Linked DNA regions of Homo sapiens: all the other regions are linked to region 1. Evidence: promoter capture Hi-C in 16 types of primary human blood cells and fetal thymus (Javierre and others, 2016). All regions are on one chromosome and are shown on one strand. The core of a region is centred on a gene start or on the middle of the fragment in contact, and the rest is flanking DNA. Distances in the headings are between cores, read along the strand shown.

Region 1 (4,301 bases), core at 1,337-3,836:
TTGCGGTCAGGTGTATAATTTATGGCACACAATTTTTTAATTGACATATTCGGTCCATATTCATGCCAATCATCTATTTAATTAGTGAACTGTTGACCGGGCGAGGTGGCTCACTCCTGTAATCCCAGCACTTTGGGAGGCTGAGGCGGGCGGATCACTTGAAGCCAAGAGTTCCAGACCAGCCTGGCCAACATGGCGAAAACCCATCTCTACTAAAAATACAAAAATTAGCCAGGCTTGGTGGTGTGCGCCTGTAGTCCCAGCTACTCCAGAGGCTGAGGCAGGAGAATTGCTTGAACCTGGGAGGTGGAGGTTGCAGTGAGCTGAGATTGCGCCACTGCACTCCAGCCTGGCCACAGAGCGAGACTCTGTCTCAAAACAAAGCAATAGAAAACAAACAAAAAAAATTAGGGACCTGTTAATTAAAATTACCACCACCACCAAAAACAGTCATAGCACCCCAAGAGAAGTAATTTATTCTTTTAAATGAGAAAGGGATTTAAAGACCGGAGAGTTACTCAACATATAGTTACTGACTAAATGTCAGGTTGATGGGAATAGAACAGTAGAAAAAATCCTGAAATCCTGGCCCTCATAGGCATTCATCCTAGGGATGACCGCTGTCATTTATTGAGTGATTATTATAGGCCAGGCACTGTTCTGAGCGTGTGATATGTATTAATTCATTGAAGCCTTTTAACATCCCCTCGTAGTAGGTAGTATTATTAGACTAATCTGTCTGTATCCGTTGGCAAATTATAACAATGAACCTGAATTACTATTGTGATTTTAACCCCCAACCCCTGCCCAGTATTTAAAATGTACAGAGTTGTGATTGGACTACAGGTAAAGCTTCTCCTACCTCTTCGTGGTTCTTTTTGAGATATGTCATCTCCTCACTCAGAGACTCATATTGCAGCTCCTGGTCGGTCCTGCAGAGCGTCAGCTCGTCCAGGACTCGCCGTAATCCGTTGATGTCGGCCTCTACGTTTTGGTGAAGGGTGAGCTCATTTTCATACCTTGGGGGGCATTTAAGTGAATTTCAGTGCCAGTAAGACTACCCCAAGAAACAGAAATATTCAATCCCAATTGCTTTAAACTGAAAATTAGAAATTGAATTAGGACTGTAAATAGTATAAAAATATATGAAGAAAGCGCTCCTGCATTACCCCCACTCAATTCTGTACAGGATAATTGGAAGTTATTTCATCACACAAATTCCAATAGCATAACCTAGTTAAATAAAAATACACCATTTTGGAATTTTATTTTAGTTAACGTTTTTCCTTAGTTGACTAATGATTTACTGAGCATCTACTTTGTGCTTGGCAGTATTCTAGGCAGGCAGAGAAATATATTGATATTTTGTCCCAGGAATATAATAACTATGTATAAGTTGATTGTAACATTATAATACAAATCCTTTGCTTCCTTTTATCTTTTAGGTGATAGTTCATTCTACTTGGGATGAAATAGAAATTTTATTTAACAAATTAAATAAATAGAAACTTTTTTCTAGAGCAGGATTTTCTTCTGTCACTTACTTTAGCCTGAAATCATCAGCAGCCAGTCTGGCATTATCAATCTGCAGAATGACATTAGCATTAGTAGTAGTGGAGGAGATAATCTAGAATAAACCAAAACAGAGAACACAACAAGTAAGTATGCTTTTATGTGATTCATTATTTCAGGAAATGAAAAAGGTTACTCAAGTTTTTGCATAAAAATTTCACCTCCTTATGTAATAATCAAAATGTTTCAAGTTTAACTTTTAAAAATTAAAGACATGGTTTTATTTATTCTCATATATTCCCCTAAATTTAGAACTACAATACTTTTTTATTCATATGCCTATGAATGTACTTCAACATAAACAATGGAACTAATAACATTTTAACTACATTAAAATTCATGAATCAAAGGGCCCATTTTTGAATAGTAGGAAGAATTGTTTATCTAAATAAATAAATACAAGTTATAACAGTCATGAAGCATTTCTTATTGTATGTCTTTTGTTAGGTATTTCTTAGTTTTAAATACTTGGGTTAGTTCCAAATCTGTGATTTCTCACCTTATTCTTAAGATCCTCAATTGTTAGGTGATATCTGCTATAGTCATGATCAAGTCCACGGCAAGATCCAGGTCCGTATTTTTCATACCAACCCTTGATTTTTCTCTCTAATTCAGCATTTGCCTCCTCCAGAGCTCGCACATTATCCAGGTAGGATGCCAAGCGGTCATTAAGATTTTGCATGGTCACCTTCTCATTTCCAGAGAGGAGTCCCCCTTCGCTTCCAGCAAAGCCAATACAAGCAGCATTTCCAAGGGCACCACCAGCATGGCTCCCACCAGGAACACTGCCCAAGCCCCCTCCCAAGGCACAGGAAAATTCACTTCCAGCAACAGAGCCACCACATGCACTGCTGCCTGCAAAGCCTGCACCTCCATTGAGGGGTCTGACAGATCCAGCTCCAGACCTTAAGCAAACATGCCTGGATCCATTAGAAAATTGGAGAGACATGGTGTTTTGAGAAATGTTCACCTTGTCTATGCAAAACTGTAATGTCCCAAGAGAACAGAATATCATGCACTGATAATTTCTTTGGGTTTTTATATATCATTATTGGGGCGTTCCTATTTGAGTTATACATGCCAAAAGCAAAATGGCATCACTTAGATTAGCATAAAATTATGTATAATTGGGTGATTTTAAAAATAATTAATGTCTAACATCCCTCGGTGTTGCTTTGGGCTATTTCTTATCTTAAATATAATAGGGTTTGTTCTATATTAAGTTTATTAATTTAACTTCTAATTTTGAGTGAGTAATCCTTTCCTTTCATCTAGACCCTAGGCATATACTGTCATTATCTGGCGCCAGGTATTATCAAATTTTTTATAAAGTTAAGTAAGATTATGATAGAGTTCTGTGAGGTACAGTAGGGTCTCAATTACCATGGAGGGGTATAAAGGACTGCTAATTACAGAAACAGATATTTTATCCCACCAGAAAAAAATGTGTTATTTAGAAAACAGAGGCTAGTGACATCTCTGTTCTTACCATGATTATAACATCTATTTATTATCTTGGACAATGACACAAATATTGACCTATTATTTTGTTTAAAATAGCATGGTTATGATGTTTGGTGCTCTATGCTAAGTGCTAAAATGAAAGACATAGTGTTAACTAAATGCAGAAGTGAAAAATGCGTGATTACAATCTTTAAGAAATCTATTGTCAGGTCCAGACAGGGGCTGGATCATGGTTAGCTTTCTGTGCTGGTCTAAAGAGTTTGTAATGAATCCTAAGTAAAAAGCAGAGGGCAAAATGATCAGGTTGAAATGAAACAAGGTGGTCAATTACAAGGTTGGAATAATGGTCCAGGTGAGAAGGATGAAGGCAGTGGGGATGCAGAGAAGATGGCTTTGAGAGCATATGGTAATATGATTGAATTTGGAGAGTAGGGAATAAGGCAGAATTGGGGATAACTCTTAGGTAATTAATTTTAGATTCTGGGAACTCATAATATTCACTGAGATGGGGAATAGAGGAGGAGGAAGACACTGAGTTTAGGTTTGGACCAACTGGATTTGAGGGGTTGCCAGAATGTTCCAGATGAAGGTGACTGATAGCAAGAATGACTGTTTAGAATATGTATACTGAACTGGAAAAATACTTGACTAGCAATGAGTAAAAGAAAATTGGAGGGTCCAGCTCTCATTTATAATGATGTTCAACTGCATATTTGGAAGTAATCCTGGTGCAGGAATAGAAAGGATGATGATCAGATTGATGTGGGTTTTGGGATTTGAAGACAGGTCCAGAAGAAGGAAATAGTGGCAAAGAAATTTCTGGTGTTCTTGAGAAAACAATTGAGGCGATTGACTGTATGATCATATAGCAAGAAGAAAGTAAAACCAGAGGGACAGATGGACTGAAGAAAAGGGCAGAGGGTGAGTCATTGGGTATCCTTATGAGGTCATGGAGCAGGCGGAGTGTGAGGAGGAGATTGATAAAGGTGAAGGATGACAGGCTAAAATTGGATAGTGGAAACCAGAATTTAGAATTTTAAAGTAGGCACAACTCCAGGTGTCACCAAAGTCCACAGAGTAGTCATGGGAGTGGACCAACAGTCACTGGAACAAGAAGTCAGAAGTGGATTGGACCTGAAAGGCAAGAGAGTAGGAGGTCAGGAACTATCTGTCTGTGACATTAAATGTACCATCTATAAAGGCGTGAAGTTTCTCATGATGGCAGGAGACAGGAGGGAAGTGGGCTGTGAGCCATTGTCAAGGTT
Region 2 (4,301 bases), core at 727-3,226, 540 kb after region 1:
GAGAGCATTCCAGGCAGTGGGAATGGCTCATGCAAAGGCCCTGAGGCAGGAGCATGACCGGCATGCCTGAGGCCCAGAGGGGAAGCCTGCATCTGTCCTGGTGTGAGCAGAGGCAAGCAGCAGAGAGCTCAGGGACAGAAGTCCCAGGTTCAATGGCTGAGGCTGTTGCAAGGCTCTAGCTGTCACTCAGAGCAGCCAGGGAGCCAGCAGAGGGTCCTAGCCAGAAGTGGGTTCAGCTGCGGCTCAGGTGTTAACAGGCCACACCACACCAGCAGGGAGGAGAGGGGGGCCAGCTGGCTGGTCCAGGTAAGTAATGAAGGGTGCTCAAACTAGGTGGGAGAAGGCAGATGGTGAGTAGAGTCACCTCAGGATCATTGTGAGGATGTCACCTACATGATTTGCTCATGGACTTAATGGGGATGGGGTCTGGAGGGAAAAGGAGAGACCAGTCCACAGGCCCCATGAGCCATATAGAAGCCAGACTGAATGGGTTTTAATTTCAACTCAGCTAGCAGGGAGCTATGTGACTGCACAGGAGCCGATGCAAACTGGACAGACAGGGACATCCTCCCTGGACTACTGTCCCACTCATCCATCCATTCATCCATTGGCCCACCTCTAGTACTGTCCCAACTACAGCCCTAGCAAGCGGAGACAACAAAAAGACCAGTTTTCCAGCTTTGTGGTCTTGGAAGAAGTTGCTACCAGTATGAGGAGAGACAATCAGTTTCCTCCAGGATCCAGAGAGCATATCAGCCAGCCTGAGGGTCAGGAAAGGAGGTCGGCCTCTCCACCAGCTAGACAGGCCTGCAGTAGGATGGGGCTGGGGCTGGCCATGCAGATCACTTGGGCCTCATGAGGGGAAAAGAAAGACCAGGGGGCAGAGGAGGAGCATGGGGGCAGCTGGTGGCCTCAGAAGAAGGCACCTCAGAGAAGGGGTCTGTCTTAGTTTGTTTTGTTTTCACACTGCTATGAAGAAATACCTGAGACTGGGTAATTTATCAAGGAAAGAGGTTGAATTGACTCACAGTTCAGAAAGCTTGCAATCATGGTGGAAGGCGAAGGGGAAGCGGGCATCTTCTTCACAAGGCAGCAGGAGGGAGTGAGAAAACGAGGAAGTGCCATGCTTTAAAACCATCTGCTCTCCTGAGAACTCACTCACTATCAGGGGAACAGCATGGGGGAACCCAGCCCCCTATAATACAATCACCTCCCATGAGGTTCCTCCCTTGACACATGGGGATTACAGCTCAAAATGAGATTTGGGTGGGGACACAGAGCCAAACCTATCAGTGTCTCACGTCTTGCAGCTCCCCTGGGGCTAAAGCTGAATGCAGATCTGCTGACCCTGATCTACAGCTTGCGGAAGCTCTGCCTGTGTGCCCCCATCTGCTGCTTCCTAGGGTTGGGGCCTGCTTCCTCAAAAGGAGAGTGGATCTGTTCTCCTGCCAGCCCCCCACAGGGCCTTGTGGAGCCCTGGCCATGTCCTCCCAAGGTGAGGTCATAAAACTGGGCTCCTTGCCCTTCTTGTTGCTTGGGTGACAAGCCTCGGGTCATCCCTAGGTCCTGTCACTGCTCCTGCTTCTAAAAGGAGAGCATTTTGCCAAATCTTCCTGGGAGAGGCTGGGGGCTCATCCCTGTTATTTGTTCTAGCTTGGTAAAATGAGGTTAAGACATCTAGGCAAGCAGACAATAGAGGGGCACCCAGGAAGGGTGGGTGGCGGGTGCTGGCATTTGGGCTTGCCTGGACCTTGTGGGGAGGGGGAAAGGTTACCAGGAGGCAGCACTGTCAGTCAGGGCTAAAGTCAGGAAGTGGGGGGAGTGGGGGCAGAGTGTGGCTGGCTTGCGGGGGGGCATAAGTGAGAGCCAAGATTTGTCAGCATGCAGTGGGTGTGGCTGACACCTGGCCTAGGGGCTGTGGAGCCCAGTGGTTGCTCTTAGTTCCTGGATCCAGGGAGATTTCTGGAGCCTGTGCCTGGGGCTTTCTAGGGGTGAAGATGGTGAGGGGCAGGGAAAGGGTGGCAGAGGAGGCCTTGCATGGCAGGGTGCAGGGCAGGATGCTGGGCAGGGACCAGATTGCAGTGGCTGCTCTCATCCCCACCACTACCCCTACCTCTACCCCAACCCTGGAGCAGGGTGGGGCCTTGGCAGGTGTCCTCTGTTTTGGCCTCGGCAGATCACAGGATGGAAGCCAGCAGTCCAATAGGCGTGCCACTCAAGCCAGCAGTGACCTGCAGCTTCTGCTTCCTGGAGAGTGGGGTGCCCACCCAAGAGAGCACAAGCACACCCCACACCCCTGACCTTGAGGGCACTGGGAGGTGGGGGCACTGTACTGGGACCAAGTCCCGGCAGCCTTGTGCGTGTGCCCTGGAAGGTAGCCTAGGAGTCCTGCGTGTGCCTCTCTGCACAGCAGGGAGGGGTGGGCAGGAGCCTGAACAGTGGCAGAGAGGGAGAGGAGGAGGGAGAGAGAAGTGGAGAAGGAGAGAGAAAGAGACATGGGAAGAAAGGAGTGAGAGAGAGAAAGAGAGATGGGGAGAGAGACAGAGACAGAGGAGGCTGAGAGGGAGTGTGGGGAGAGAGATAAGGAGAGAGACATAAAAGGTAGAGAGAGAGACAGGGAGAGATGCGCATGAGCAGAGGTCAGGTCACTCTTGATCTTAGTTCCCAGTGCAAACTGTAGGTCACCATCACCTGCCCACACATGCACTAAAGAGCTCTGTGCCTGCTGCCCACAGCCCCTGAGAACTCCTTCTCTTGAAGAATAAAACTTTTGATGGCTGCCATTCCTCACTGGATTTTGGTTGTGTCTTTGATGAACCATGATGTCCCACCTTCCCGGGCTCAAGTCTCCACCAAAAGCTGATGCCTCTTTTTGGGAGGCTCTGCAGTGCCTTCATCTCACTAGGCTCCCCAGGAAGCTTGTGAGCTTGGGTTGGACCCTAAGCAGTCAGATACATGCTGGGGCTCTGCTTGTCTCTTTCACTAACAGGGAAAGCCAAGAAAGAGATTGAAGCATGGTCTGCAGAGAAGGCACTTGTGCAAACACCAGGAGAACAAGAAGCCTGAGTTGTCTTCATTTCTCTTAAAAACACTCATTCCCTCCCATGCCACCTTAGTGAGGGCATGAAGCACAGCATGTGTGTGTATGTGTGCAGGTATGTGCACATGTATGTATGTGCATGTGTGTGTGTGTTGCAGGGGTGTGCTGTGGACAGGAGGTCCAGGGGGCAGCTCCAACTCAAAGCTGCAAGTCTCTGTGATAGAATGGTCAAGATTCACTGGACCACAGCAAGAGAGTGTTTTCATGTGCATCCAGTTTTATTAGCATTTAAACCCATATTTTTAGTACCCTGTAAACCTTAAGTTGCTTATCTATTCTTAGAAGCATTTACACCAGTGGTCCCCAGCCTTTTTGGTACCAGAGACCAGTTTCATGGAAAACAACTTTCCCATGGGCCGAGGAGAGGGAAAGTTATGATTTGGGGCTGATTCAAGCCCATTACATTTATTGTGCACTTTATTTCTACTATTAATATATTGTAATATACAATGAAAAAATTACACAACTAACCATAATGTAGGATCAGTGGGAGCCTTGAGTTTGTTTTCCTGCAACTACATGATCCCATCTGGGGGTGATGGGAGACAGTGACAGATCATAAGGCATTAGATTCTCATGGGAAACTCTGAAGTTTCCCATCAGCAAGAAGCTAGGAGTAGAGAAGCAAGAGACCCTCTTCCCTCTCTCCTTTCTTGAAGGAGAGAGGAAAGAAGCCCCCTCAGCTAGCCCTGAAGGCAAACGTATGCAATGCTTTAGAGTTACTAACGTCAGAGTGGTGTAAGGACTGGAAAAGATGGTCCATGTTGAATCCACACTCCCTCCCATTCCCAGTCTCCTATTTCCAGGAAAAGCTGTCCAGGCCCTTCCCAGGCCTGCGTTTTGTTTGGGGCACATATGCCACCATAAACTCCATCACCTGCCATCTTGGAACTCTCTCTCCACAAATCCCTTTTTTCTTTCTACTTTTATTTGCAAAATTTCTGACAAAGAAAATATCATTGGAAGATATTCTCAGTAAAAATCAGGGATGTGTATTTGAAAGAGAAAACTGCATCCTGGGCAACAAAATGTCCTGAGACAATGAATCGGCTAGACAGATATCTTAGAGAAACGAACCAACCCAAATGTGGTCCTCATTGGCAACATACACATATTTTATTGATGCTTCTATGGTTAATAGCATTGCCATGCTCCTCTTGACACATGGTGCTTCCCAGTCCATCATAGAGGGGCTCATTGT
Region 3 (4,301 bases), core at 482-2,981, 510 kb after region 1:
GTCATTCAACTATGTAGCCCATTTCTACTTTATTCTTCTTTATGGCTCTTATCACCCCTTGACCTCATATAAGCACCATGAGGGCAAGGACCTTGTCTATTCACAGATGCATACCCAGCATCCAGAGCAGCAGCTGATACATTGGAGGCACACGATTAGCATTTATTGAGTGAATAAATGAGAACCTCTGTGGATAGCTAAGAAGGGCAAGCCTGTATCAGTAATTCAAAAATCACTACCGCCACACATGCATCCAGGAGGCATGACCGTGCGCAATAGAATAATCAGCTGCTCTGAATCACAACTACTCAGTGCAGATTCACTGGTCTCTGGACAAGTGTGTCCCATTGGCAGCTCCTGCTTTGGCGGTGGCTTTGTCTTAGGGGTTAAAGAGCCAGTTCCTAGGAAGCCAGTTCCAGCCAGAGTGAAAATGGCTCAAATAGTAGAGTCCGAAACTGAACCAAGGCAGAGTCAAATCTCAGGTTCTCTCCAAAAGAAGACATTAATAATACTGCTGGGTTCATAAATGAAAGAAAAAAATGAAAACACAATGAGCTACCACTATACACCTGCTGGAATGGCTAGAAATAAAAAGACTGATAATATTAAGTGTTACCAAGGACATAGACACTGGAACTCTCAGACATTGCTGGTTGGAATACAAAATGCTGTGGCCACTTTGCAAAACAACTCGGCAGTTTCACATAAGGTTAAGCATTCACTTACCATTTAAACAGCCATCCAATTGCTAAGTATTTATCCAAAACAAAGCATATGTTCACCAAAAAAAAAAAATTGTACGAGAATGCTCATAGCAGCTTCATTCATAATAGCCAGAAACACAAAAGAATCCAAATGCCCATAAGTAGGTGAATATATTTTTAATGTAGTTTATCTGTATAATGGGATGCCATTCAGTAGAAAAAAAAATGAATTATTGATACCTGCAACAATGAACAGATACAAAACATGATAGGCAAAATGAAAAATAGTGCATACTGCATGATTTCTTTTATATGAAATTCTAGACATGGTGAAATCTGTAGTAACATAAAGAACAGGTTGATGGTTGCCAGGGTCTGGGGGTGGGGGAAGAACTGACTGCAAAGACAAACTGGGAATTTTGGGGGTGATGGAAAGTTCCATAAAGATCTTGAGTGCAGTGGTGGTTACATAAGTATACACGAATGTCAGATCACATCATACTGTTCACTAAAAATGGGAACTTTTTATTATATGTAAATTATATTTCAATAAAGTTGACCATAAAAAATGAAACAAAAAAATTTTTTAAAGAAAAAGGTAAAAGCAACATAATCCCAGTTTTATTCATAACTATGCTTAGAAAACAGTCTGGAAAGCTTATCAGTAATAGACTCTGAGTGGTGAGCCTTCGAATGCTATATTCTTTATATGTTTCTGTATTTTTTCATTTTTTAGAGTTCATTGCTATGCTTATAATCAGAAAAAAATTTTTCTTTGTCAAATGAAACATCGCTTTGTAGGCATAAAAATAAATACTATTTTTCCAGGGCAAGAGCAAAATTAGTTTTATTACACACACAGCTTAAGGTCACTTTCAACAAAAGGTTGATCAACTGTCTTTTGAGTTTTAACCTCCCAGGTGGACCCACACACCTTGGCTGGGCCCTACCTAGCAGAGGTATACTCACTCCCTCCTCCTTAGAACTCAGGCAGAAGAAACGTAGCTGGTTCCAGGTAAGACAACCTAGCACAGAAAAGTGAGACTGGACCAAGCATGAGGCTGGAAGAAGGAACTGTACTGCGCAGAACATCCTCAGAAACTGTGAATTCACTAGCTTTGCCATTAGAAATCCTTTCCATTCAGAACCAATCTTGTTTTACCAAAGCCTCCTTTCCGACTTTGCCAGAAAGTTCTGATCAAGCCTGAAGCCCTCCTGCAGAACCATCCTAGGAGAGCTGTAGTGCAGAAGAAAGCCATGCCCCTCAATCACCATTAAATGTGGCCAGCATCAGCATTCACCCAGGAGCTTTTAAAAATGCAGGTCCCTAGGGACTCTAGGCCCTAGAGCTAACGGGTAAAATCTCCAGTGATAAAACCCAATGATCTATATTTTTAAAAGCTTTTCAAGTGAATCTCATGCAGCACACGGAAGCTTCCGTCTAGATCTATGGTTCTCAAACTTCAGTGCATAAGAATTATCTAAGGTTCTTGTTAAAAACACAGATTCCCAGGCCACACTTTGGTGGATTCTGATTCTGTATGTCTTAGGGAGGGCCTCAGAGTCTCCAGTTTTAACAAGCTCCCAGGTGATTCCGACGCAGGTGATCCAAAAACCACAATTCAAAAACCCTAAGGCAGATGCCAGAGTGAATTTTTCTAACCCAGTCCTCAGCAGGGAGGTCAAGGAAGAGGCAAGAGAACTAATTAGGTTATGCCAGCATGCTCAAATTTATTAAGAGGCTCACAAAGAAGATGGACCTTTTTTGCATCTCAAAGCTGCAGAAAGCCAGGGCGGAGGATCAGTCCCAAAGACACCTTGAAGAAGAGGATGTCTTATAGTACAAGACATTGAACTTCATGTGAATAAGTAAAGTATTGGGGATTCACCCTTGAGCTTGGGATCACTTAGTTGTGACCGAGTTTTAATGTTTCATCAGAGTATGGCTCTTGTTCTCGGTGCCTTGAAATACCAGAGAAGGTGTTGGAGAACAAGCCCTCCTCTACAAATCACAGAAAGACAAGACACTGTCTTGGGGGTATGGAAGGTTCTGGACACGAGGGGCTGTCCCCCTGGAGCAGATGGAGGCTTTCGGTGGGACTGCATCAGTGGTGGAGGGAAAGGTCTTCATTTTGTGTCGCATATAGGTGTGGGCTGGCAGCACACAGGCCCACAGCACCCGGAGCCGCAGCAACTGGACCCACAGCAACTGGATCCACAGCAGCCACCCCCGCAGCCTCCGCAGCCTCCACAGCCTCCGCAGCCAGATCCACAGCAAGACGATCCGCAGCAGCTGCCCCCGCAGCCAGAGCCCCCGCAGCCAGAGCCCCCACAGCCACAGCAGGAGCCGCAGCAGCCACAGCAGCCCGGCTGACAGCAGCACTCTTCACAGCAGTTTTGCTCCTGGGTGCAGCAGGTGAAGCAGTCCCCCGGGCAGCACCCCATGGTCCGGGCCCGTCAGCTCGCAGGTCGGTAACGCAGCCGGAGTTCCCCACGACTGACGGTGGCCAGCCATCTGGATGGCAGCTTTTATATCCCCTCACCCAGGCATGAGGGACGGGATGTTTTCTTTGTTATTATTTATGCAAGTTTCCATAAGACCGGCTCATTAACTGGCTGTTTATTTTCCAGTCCTGAGTACCTCAACTCATAAAAACGCCCCACTCCTGCCAACTGCTGTTTATCCAGAGGGTAAAAATACATCTTCGAAAAGACCTGTCATCATGGCCAAGCATCTGCCAGCTGTCATTAGCCCAGGTTGGAGATGGGAAGGGGAAGCCGGCCACAGCTTCTGGCTCTGGAATGAGGGGCTTGCCTTCCACATCTTCGCAGGTTGGCGATGGACCCCATCTTCCATGGATGCTAGTCCTGGAAAGGCAGACCGGCAACAGCCGAATGCTCTGTTCCCCCTGACACCAGTGGAGGCTACTGAGAACGCCTGGTCACGTGGCTCCTCCCAGGTGGAAATGGCATCCTCATCCCGGTTCATGTGAGCCAGGCAAATGTTTGTGTCTGTGTGTGGTATGGGGAGTGTGCCACACGTTTAGGCTTGGCCGGTGAGCATCAGTCATGAGTAATAACTGCCCTGTGAAACCGAGAGAGACTCATCGTAAAGCTGCAAGAAGCTGGTAAGGCATGGTCTGTCTCGGCGGCAAGGTGAGCTGAATATTCGCACTTCTCTCTAAATAGGTGGGAAGAACTGAGATCAGAACCCTCTACCCACCCCCACTCCAGCCCCAGGCCTTTCCTTGACCGGGGAAGGAAGAGATGCAGGAGGAGGAAGAAGAGGAGAAGGGGAGGAAGAAAGGAAAGAAGAAAAGAAAGAAGAAAGCAGGAAGGAGATCAGTAAATATCCAAAATGCTACATTAAAATGGGAATGTAACGCACTTTTTTTAAGAGTTCGAACCTTATAGACCATCTGGCAGAAGGAGAAATTAGAATACAAAATACCCAGAGTGTCATCCCAAGGAATAAAATGCCTTTGCAAGGAGTCTAAAATCTACAGATGGTTCAGGTCCATGTGTAAATTTTGAGATGGGTCAAAATTTCTGTCTCTTTCTTGGACTTTGGTACCTTGTTCTCCTCTTGGAGTGCCC

Evidence for each region. The method cuts DNA at HindIII sites, captures the fragments that hold promoters and counts their contacts. A CHiCAGO score of 5 or more calls a contact.
Region 2: a fragment that was not itself captured here is called in contact with the fragment with the promoter of KRT28 in region 1 in 4 of 17 cell types (M0 macrophages, M2 macrophages, endothelial precursors and 1 more); the score reaches 8.3 in M0 macrophages.
Region 3: a fragment that was not itself captured here is called in contact with the fragment with the promoter of KRT28 in region 1 in 5 of 17 cell types (endothelial precursors, erythroblasts, M0 macrophages and 2 more); the score reaches 8.3 in endothelial precursors.

The regions. Positions count from the first base shown.
Region 1 is chr17:40,797,373-40,801,673 of GRCh38, forward strand. KRT28 (keratin 28) reads right to left here and starts at 2,587. Exons shown (of 8, transcript NM_181535.3): 1 at 2,072-2,587; 2 at 1,545-1,627; 3 at 863-1,019. The coding sequence starts at 2,521. LOC105371776 (a long non-coding RNA gene) reads left to right here and starts at 3,962. Exons shown (of 4, transcript XR_934753.2): 1 at 3,962-4,192. RefSeq lists an enhancer at 566-1,765. The HindIII fragment of the contact is 3,919 bases long and covers 851-4,301 here.
Region 2 is chr17:41,333,314-41,337,614 of GRCh38, forward strand. No RefSeq gene overlaps it. Among named protein-coding and RNA genes, the nearest start is that of KRT33A, 15 kb to the right of the region's middle. The HindIII fragment of the contact is 1,879 bases long and covers 1,038-2,916 here.
Region 3 is chr17:41,312,502-41,316,802 of GRCh38, forward strand. KRTAP17-1 (keratin associated protein 17-1) reads right to left here and starts at 3,209. Exons shown (of 1, transcript NM_031964.2): 1 at 2,411-3,209. The coding sequence starts at 3,149. The coding sequence ends at 2,832. The HindIII fragment of the contact is 744 bases long and covers 1,360-2,103 here.